3 separate regions of the Homo sapiens genome follow, and all the other regions are linked to region 2. The links are contacts of gene promoters, found by promoter capture Hi-C in blood cells and fetal thymus (Javierre and others, 2016). All regions are on one chromosome and are shown on one strand. The core of a region is centred on a gene start or on the middle of the fragment in contact, and the rest is flanking DNA. Distances in the headings are between cores, read along the strand shown.

Region 1 (2,700 bases), core at 130-2,629, 1.6 Mb after region 2:
GACAAACCTCAAAAACATTATGAAAGAGGACAGTCACCACGACTGCATACTGTATGATTTCATTTTCATTTCATTGTATGAAATATCCCAGATAGGTAAATCTAGGGAGAATGCAAAGATTAGTGGTCACTCAGGGCTGGGGGTGGGGGGTGCAGGTTGGAAGAAATAGTGAGTGACTGTGAGTGGATGCACAGTTTCTTTTTGGGGGTGATGAATTGTTCTAAAAATTGAATGTGGTGATGGTTGCACAACTCTGAATGTACACACAAAAAACCCATTGAATTGTGCACTTTAAAGAGATGAATTATATGGTATGTGAATTTTATTATTTGTATTTCTTTACACATACCAGTCATCTTCTGTTTGGGCGTTAGTTCTCAATTAGGATATAAAAGGATTCAGCAGTGATGGAGTTTCTCACAAAGGGGTGATGGGCCAAGGAGGTCATGGTCAGAAGGGCAGAGTGCACCCTTCACTGGCCCCTCTTAGGTGATGCTTGCAGAGTTGCTCACAGTTGAGCTCTTTGTAAGAAAGAACATAGAGGAAAAGCTGTAAGCTGCCAGCTATAGAAACCCCTGCAATGCTCCCTTCCTTCCTGTGAGGCACTTGTTCTAATGCGGGTAGTAACTTCTTTGAAATGCTCCAATCATGCCTTTCAGGGTGAAACCCCACATCAATAGCCAGCTTGGCAGCTCCCCAAGTTAGGCATCCATGACTTTCCTCTCTTTCACTGGTGCAACTGACACCATCTTGGAGTCCTGGTTGTCCACCATTGGTCATGTGAATTACTGTTGGTAACAGCTCAATAATGCTGTCATTTATAAAGAAGAGTGAACTTTTCTGGTAGAGATACATGTCAACAATGACAACACACCCTGGTTGGTCCTATGTCATAGGCTGTTTTAATTTACATGTTTACTTTTCAGCTCCTCTACCGAGGAACCACAAAGTAGTAATCTTTGCATCCCCAGGGCCCATGAAAGTTCATCCCTAAATGTTGAACGCTCCATAGATTGGTAGCCTGCTAGCTGGCAACTTGGGAAAATTAATTGCAAGAGAATTGAATCCTCAGTGAGTGCTTCTTTGTAAACATGGGATATTGAAATTTCTGTAAAGCAAGCCCTCACATAAAAAACTCACTTTACAGTGTGAAAATGCCAAAGTTGATTTAAAAATAAAATAGAAGTTAGGACAAATATATGCTTTTGCAAGCATTTATTCAGTGTTTAAATTCAAACAGCTCATATAAATGATATGTTCTAAACATTTCTTGGGGGGTACTTGGTCATGGGTAGGGTGAAATGAAGTTTTTTAAAATAAAAGTTCCATAAAGTTTTGACTGAAGGTATCATGTTTTTCCCCAGTTAATCTTTCAGGGTTAAGCATTGCTTTTCTTTATTGTGCCAAGAACCTCCAACTTCTAAGTTAGGTTTAATCTTCTCAAAAAGTATGCTCTGAGTATTTGATGGGTATGAATGTCTCCAAAGGTATTCAATGGAATATGCTGGTAAAAAGAGCTCTTTGAGGCTTCTCATTCTATGAATTTCAACGATTCCATTTTCATAAACTCCCCATGCTTGAGCTGCTCTGAATGAAAACTTGACAACTCAAGCCTATCTGCAAGAAAAACTTCTTTATTCAACACATAATGTAACCAGGGAAGATTTTTCTTTTTTGACAATTCCAATGGTGTTACTGTCCAAAAGGAGTCTTGTTCTCTTAGAATGAAGTTCTCAAAATATAGATTACAGAAAAAAAAAAAAGGAAATTGAAACCTCACTGAGATACTACTTCTCATTTCTCAGAGGGCCAAAAAAATCATAAAGAAGGACACCATACTCATTTCTGCTGGCAATATTAAGTGGTATAATCTTTATAGAAGAGAGTTTGACAATAGCTAGCAACATTATATGCATTTGCCTTTTGACTCATCAATCCCACTTCTAGGAATCTATTCCAAAGATGCTCTCAAAATAAGAAATTCATATACACAAGGCTTTTCATGATGACACTGCTAGTAAGAGCAAAAAACTGGGAATAGCCCAAATGTCCATCAACAGAGTAATGGTTGAATAAAGTACCTTCACATGTTGGAGTACTATGTAGCTGAAAAAAAGAACAAAGTTTTCTATGTATTGGTGTCAAGTGAGAATAATTTTTAAGTGCAATCCAGATGCAGAAAATGTGTATAATGGGTTACCTCTTCTCTGTGAAGGAAAAAACAACAAATATTTACTATATTTATTTGCTTACATAAAAAAATAATTGAAGGACAAATCAAAACTAAAAAATATTACTGTGGGAGAGGGAGGCAACAGAGGAGGGTACAGGTATGACAGCTAGACTTTCTGTTTATTTGATGGTATCTAGGAATTATTACTAATATTTTTAGATGTGATGATACTGTAGTATGTTTAAAAATTGCCTTATCTTTAGTGATATAAACTAAAGGCTTTTTAAAAGATAAAATTATGTGATATCTGGGACTTTTTAAAACTTTTAATTGCATTTATTCATTTATTGTCTTGAGACAGAGTCTCACTCTGTCACTCCGGCTGGAGTGCAGTGGCGCGATCTCGGCTCGTTGCAACCTCTGTCTCCCAGGTTCAAGCGATTCTCCTGCCTCAGCCTCCTGAGTAGCTGGGATTACAGGCACGCACCACCACGCCCAGCTAATTTTTTAATTTTTAATAGAGAAGG
Region 2 (2,700 bases), core at 98-2,597:
GAACACACCATACCAGGTGAACCTGTAACAAAGACAGCCAAGGATGTTTGTAAACAGTTAGGGACGGGGATGAGTAGACTGTCTAGAGCCAGAGACCTGGAGCCATCAGCATCCCGATTCCGAGAGGTTCCATGAGAATGGATGAAACTACACAGAACATCTAGTGGAGGCACAAGGGAAGAAATCCACCTATTTCTGTGGAATTTCCAATATCTGGAGGTAGTAAAAGGAAGAGACAGAGGAGGGCGAGGGGAGAGCGCGCGCGCGAAACGGAGACTGAGACCCAGCCATCAGGGTGTGCTGGGAGAACTGGGGAGACGAGTCTGCCCCTGCGAGTGGACCCAGGGAAGAGGGCGCGGTCTACGCAGAGCCCGAGGCAGGGAAGCGGGAGGGGCCCGGAGAGCAGCCCTGGGTGAGGCCCTTTGGAATGGAGAGGTCTCAGGAGTGAAGCAGCAGCCAGAGGACTGAGAGTGTCTGGAAAGTGAGGAATTGGTTAAAGTAACGCCGGTGGCTGCAACAGAGAGGGGCGTAGGTGAAGAAGCACCCCCAACCCCATCCCATTTGAGAGGAAGCAGACAATGAAGAAGAGAATATGAAAGATACAGAAAGATGAAGGCAGGGGTGGAAAGAACGGAGGGGGGGGACAGGAAGGGAAGGAGAAGGTGCAACCAATAGGCTGTAAGCACAGGGGCAAGCTTGGGCGCCAGGGGAGCAGGGACTCGGCGCCTCCCCGATCTGCCCCAGGCGCCACGGAAATTCCAGGCCCCGCCACCCGCACTCCCGGAGCCTCCTCCGCAGCGGCGGCTCCTCCCACTCGCCCTCCCGGGGCTCCCGCCCAAGCTTCCGGCGCTTCCAAACTCACTGCTCGCGTCACCCCCCGCTCCCATCCGGCAGCAAATCACAGCGCAGCAAATCGCAAGCCTAGAAACAGACGCTCCCTCTCCAGGGGCAGCTTCCTATTCAGGGCGGGTCTGGGCGCACCTGTTCTCGGGACCCGGCCCTCGGCCTTCGCCGGGTCTCGCGGTGGGGCTTGGGACCCCGGCTGGTGCCAGGGCGACCCCCACAGCCCCGCGACTCTCTTTCCCGGCCGCCTCCCGCCGTCATTCTCCTAGTTCCTGCCCGCCTTTGCCTCGCTCTGATTCCTGCTCTGGCCTTCCTCCCTTCCCCTCTCTCACGCACTCCAGGGAAGAGGTGGCCTCCGCGGGAACCTGGGCACCTCCGTGCCTGCCCCGCCCGGTACCTGGCAGAGGCCCCCACCTCCTGCTGCTGCTGCTGCTGCCGCCGCCGCCGCCGCCGCTGCTGCTTTGACTATTCCTCCTTTGTAGATGCTTCACGTCCGCCTTGATTGAGGGCAAGGCTTCCGGCAGATGACTCAGAACCGTTCGATTGCTCTGGCTTGTGCAATCCCTGATTCTTTGGGCCTGTGTGGATGTCTGTGGGCACCGGAGAGAGGGCCAGTGCCTGGTCCTTGGAGGGTGGTTTTTATAAAAAGTGTACACATTGGCTATTGTCCTTTTTTCACCGTTGATTCACGTTTGACTCCACTGTAGTTAGACGTCCACCCAAACATTCTCTGAAATTGCTCCTGATAAGGATACTAATCATTTTCTAATTGCCTTGGCCAAAAAATACATCCCAGGTCTTATTTCATTTTGTTTGTTGGCGACATTTAGCCCTTTCTTCTTTGACCTTCCCAGGATTTCCAGAGCACCCTTCCCTTCTTTCCTGACTCCTTTGCTTGGTATCCTGATTCCTTTCCTACCATTCTAAGCCCTCTTCTTTTCATTATAATATGATCTTCTTGTATGACCTCCACTATATCCATAGGTTCATGTTTCAACTTTTAACTTATTTCTTCAAAATCTCTAACCTGTCTCGAGCCGTAGATGTTACCTGTGTACTACTGGACATCTCTCAGAAACCTGGGTGTGTCCCTCCGCAGTTCTTTTAACTAAATGATCAACAGTCCTGTTACTTCTATCACTTTTGTGTTCCTCCTGTCCATACTCTGTCACCTCTATCATGTCTCATGTCTCTCCTAAACAATTAATTTTCCTACCTACAGTTCTGATCCATGCCAACCTATTGCCTACTCTGAAGTTCAGGTAAACATTCCAATTCTAATTATTTTATACCTCAGTTTAAAATCCTTTATAACATCCTCTTATCCAAAAAGATAAATTAGAAACTATTGAGCAAGGAGTGTAAGCCTCTTCACGTCTTGATTTCTCCCTTCTTTTCTTTAGAGCCATAGCAAATTATTTACATTCCTTCATATCCTCTGTTCATATACATGGGGTTCCTGGCATGCAAGCTTGTCTTTCAAAATTCAGTTCAAATAATGTCTCCTGCAGGAAGCTCTCACAGAGCTCTCCAGTTTGGGAATTCTGCTTTTAAAGATGCACATTCCCACTCTGCACCCCAAACCAATTAAGTAAAGATCTCTTGGAGGAGGGAACCCAGCAGCAGTATTTTGTAAAACTCGCTCAGTGATTTCCCTGTGGAATCCTAAAAGTAACTGTTCCCAAGAACTCTCCTCAATAAGTCTTGGTGCAGGATTCACCCCCATCTTTTCTCCATGACTTTGAAACCCCTCTCTCTAGTGGCTACAGACTCACATTTGAACTGTGCCCAAACTTACCGGCTCTGCCAGTTGAAAATGCCAAGGTCACTTCCCCATTGTGCATCAATTTCTCCTTG
Region 3 (2,700 bases), core at 189-2,688, 1.5 Mb after region 2:
GACACAGGGTGATCAGAAACTGCTCTGGGATGTGTGACACTTCCCAAGCCTCAATAAACGGTAGAATGGGAATAGACTGCTTCCTGGCCCCTCAGGACTGGCTTAGCCATGAAGGACTAACCTGGATGTTCTTGGGGACTGTGGTTGATTCCCATGGAGGCAGCTCCACAGAGGTCCTGGGCTCAAGTGTGGTACCTGAGAGAGGGTCAAGAGTCTGGTGGTTGTTGTCATTTTAAAATTTATTCTATTTTATTGATGTAAAGTTCACTCAACATAAAATTAACTAAAACCTGAAGGTAGCTTTTTACAATATTTTAAATAGTTTTGTGCACGAAACAAAGTTTGTGATAAGTATTTTTGTGTGGAATTTACCACTTGTGGCATCATATCAGCATTCAAAAAGTTTCAGATTTTGATGATGAGTCGAAAATGCATTTAATACACCTAACCTACCAAGCATCAGAGCTTAGCCTAGCCTGCCTTAAACCATGCTAAGAACATTTACATTAGTCTACAGACGGGCAGAATCTTCTGTAACACAGTTGATGTAGTTTGGATATTTGTCCTCTCCAAACCTCATGTTGAAATTGGCCAGGCACAGTCGTTCATGCCTGTAATCCCACCACTTTGGGAGGCCGAGGCGGGCGGATCACGAGGTCAGGAGTTCGAGACCAGCCTGACCAACATGGGGAAACCTCGTCTCTGCTAAAAATACAAAAATTAGCTGGGCATGGTGGCACGCGCCTGGAATCCCAGCTACTCAGGAGGCTGAGGCAGGAGAATCGCTTGAACCCGGGAGGCGGAGGTTGCAGCACTCCAGCCTGGGAACAGAGTGAGACTCCGTCTCAAAAAAATAATTATTAAAAAAAAAAAAAAAAAAAAGAGGGAGAAATTTGACCCTGTGTTGGAGGCGGGGCCTGGTGAGAGGCGTTTGGGTGGAGGTGGGGCCTGGTGAGAGGTGTTTGGGTCAGGGAGGTGGGTCCCTCATGAATGGCTTGGGTCCTGTCCTTGTCCTCACAGTAATGACTGAGTTCCTTTTCTACCGGTTCCTGCAACCAGACGGAGTTTCGCTTTTGGCGCCCAGGCTGGAGTGCGGTGGGCAATCTCGGCTCACTGCAATCTCCGATTTCCGGTTTCAGGCGATTCTCCTGCCTCAGCCTCCCGAGTAGCTGGGATTACAGGCGCCCACCACCATGCCCCGCTAATTTTTGTATTTTTAGTAGAAACAGGGTTTCACCATGTTCACCAAGCTGGTCTCAAACTGCTGACCTCGTGATCCGCCCGCCTCGGCCTCCCAAAGTGCTGGGATTACAGGCGTGAGCCACTGCGCCCGGCCTCTTGCAACATTTGACTGTTAAAAAGAGCCTGACACCTCCTTCCCTCCCTCCTCCTCCCACTCTAGCCAAGCGATGCTTTATCTCCTTCCCCTTCCGCTATGATCACAAGTTTCCTGAGGTCCTCATCAGAAGCAGATGTTGGCAGCGGGCTTCTTGTGTACCCTGCAGAATTGTGAGCCAAATAAATCTCTTTTCTTTATAATTTTTTTTTAAAGGCCGGATGTGGTGGCTCACGCCTGTAATCCCAGCACTTTGAGAGGCCGAGGCAGGCGGATCACGAGGTCAGGAGTTTCAGACCAGACTGGCCAACATGGTAAAACCCCGTCTCTACTAAAAATACAAAAATTAGCTGGGCGTGGTGGCGGGCGCCTCTAGTCCCAGCTACTCTGGAGGCTGAGGCAGGAAAATCCCTTGAAACTGGAAGGCAGAGGTTGCGGTGAGTCGAGATCGCACCACTGCACTCCAACCTGGGCGAAAAAGCGAAACTCCATCCCCCCCACCCCCCAAAAAAGTTTCAGAGTTTGGAGCATTTCAGATTTTAGATTTTCGGATTAGGGATGTTCAACTGTGTAGAATTCAGTTGTATTTGGTGCGTTCACTGTACTGCGCAACAATCCGCTGTAGCTTGCTCCAAAGCATTTGTGTGACCTGAAAGGAAATCCTGTACCCATGAAGCACTCACTCCCCACTCCCCTCCTCTCTTCAATCCCTGCCAACAGCTAAAGTATTTTTGTCTCTGTGGGATTTACCTCTTCCCAATATGCCATACAAATGCAATCCTACAATCAATGACATTTGGTGTCTGTCGTCTCACTTCTCATACTGTTTTTGAGTTCATCCCCATGGTAGAATGAAGCATGTAGCATTGCGGTATTATGGCTGAATTATATCCCATGGTAGGTGCCTACCACGTTTTATTTATCTGTTGACGGGCATGTGGGTTGCTTTGCCTTTTGGCTATTGTGAATGGTGGTGCTATGCATATTACTGTACAATTATTTGAGTACCTGTTTTCCGGTTTTTTGAGGTATATACCCAGGATGTTAAATCGTATGATAATTCTGTATACCTTTTTGAGGAACTACCAAACTGTTTTCCACAAGGGCTACATCACTTCACAATGGTTCTAACTTCTCAATATCCTCGCCAATACTTGTTACTTTCTGTTATTTTCATTTTTATTTTTTGGACGGAGTCTCGCTCTGTCGCCCAGGCTGGAGTGCAGTGGCGCGATCTCAGCTCATTGCAAGCTCCGCCTCCTGGGTTCACGCCATTCTCCTGCCTCAGCCTCCCGAGTACCTGGGACTACAGGCACCTGCCACCACGCCTGGCTAATTTTTTGTATTTTTAGGAGAGACAGGGT

The links. Contacts are between HindIII fragments. The CHiCAGO score rates a contact against its expected background, and 5 or more counts as called.
Region 1: a contact is called between a fragment that was not itself captured here and the fragment with the promoter of SERPINB8 in region 2, in 2 of 17 cell types (activated CD4 T cells and non-activated CD4 T cells). The highest score is 9.4, in activated CD4 T cells.
Region 3: a fragment that was not itself captured here is called in contact with the fragment with the promoter of SERPINB8 in region 2 in 1 of 17 cell types (non-activated CD4 T cells); the score reaches 5.1 in non-activated CD4 T cells.

Annotation. Positions count from the first base shown.
Region 1 is chr18:62,416,367-62,419,066 of GRCh38, reverse strand. No RefSeq gene overlaps it. Among named protein-coding and RNA genes, the nearest start is that of TNFRSF11A, 92 kb to the right of the region's middle. RefSeq lists an enhancer at 633-682. The HindIII fragment of the contact is 6,401 bases long and covers 1-2,700 here.
Region 2 is chr18:63,968,728-63,971,427 of GRCh38, reverse strand. SERPINB8 (serpin family B member 8) reads right to left here and starts at 1,347. Exons shown (of 7, transcript NM_002640.4): 1 at 1,258-1,347. LOC105372165 (a long non-coding RNA gene) reads left to right here and starts at 924. Exons shown (of 3, transcript XR_935576.3): 1 at 924-2,105. It also overlaps a transcript of HMSD not described here. RefSeq lists silencers at 646-865, 936-995, 1,006-1,205 and enhancers at 679-973, 1,266-1,435, 1,466-1,515. The HindIII fragment of the contact is 1,474 bases long and covers 843-2,316 here.
Region 3 is chr18:62,502,594-62,505,293 of GRCh38, reverse strand. No RefSeq gene overlaps it. Among named protein-coding and RNA genes, the nearest start is that of ZCCHC2, 19 kb to the left of the region's middle. The HindIII fragment of the contact is 7,862 bases long and covers 1-2,700 here.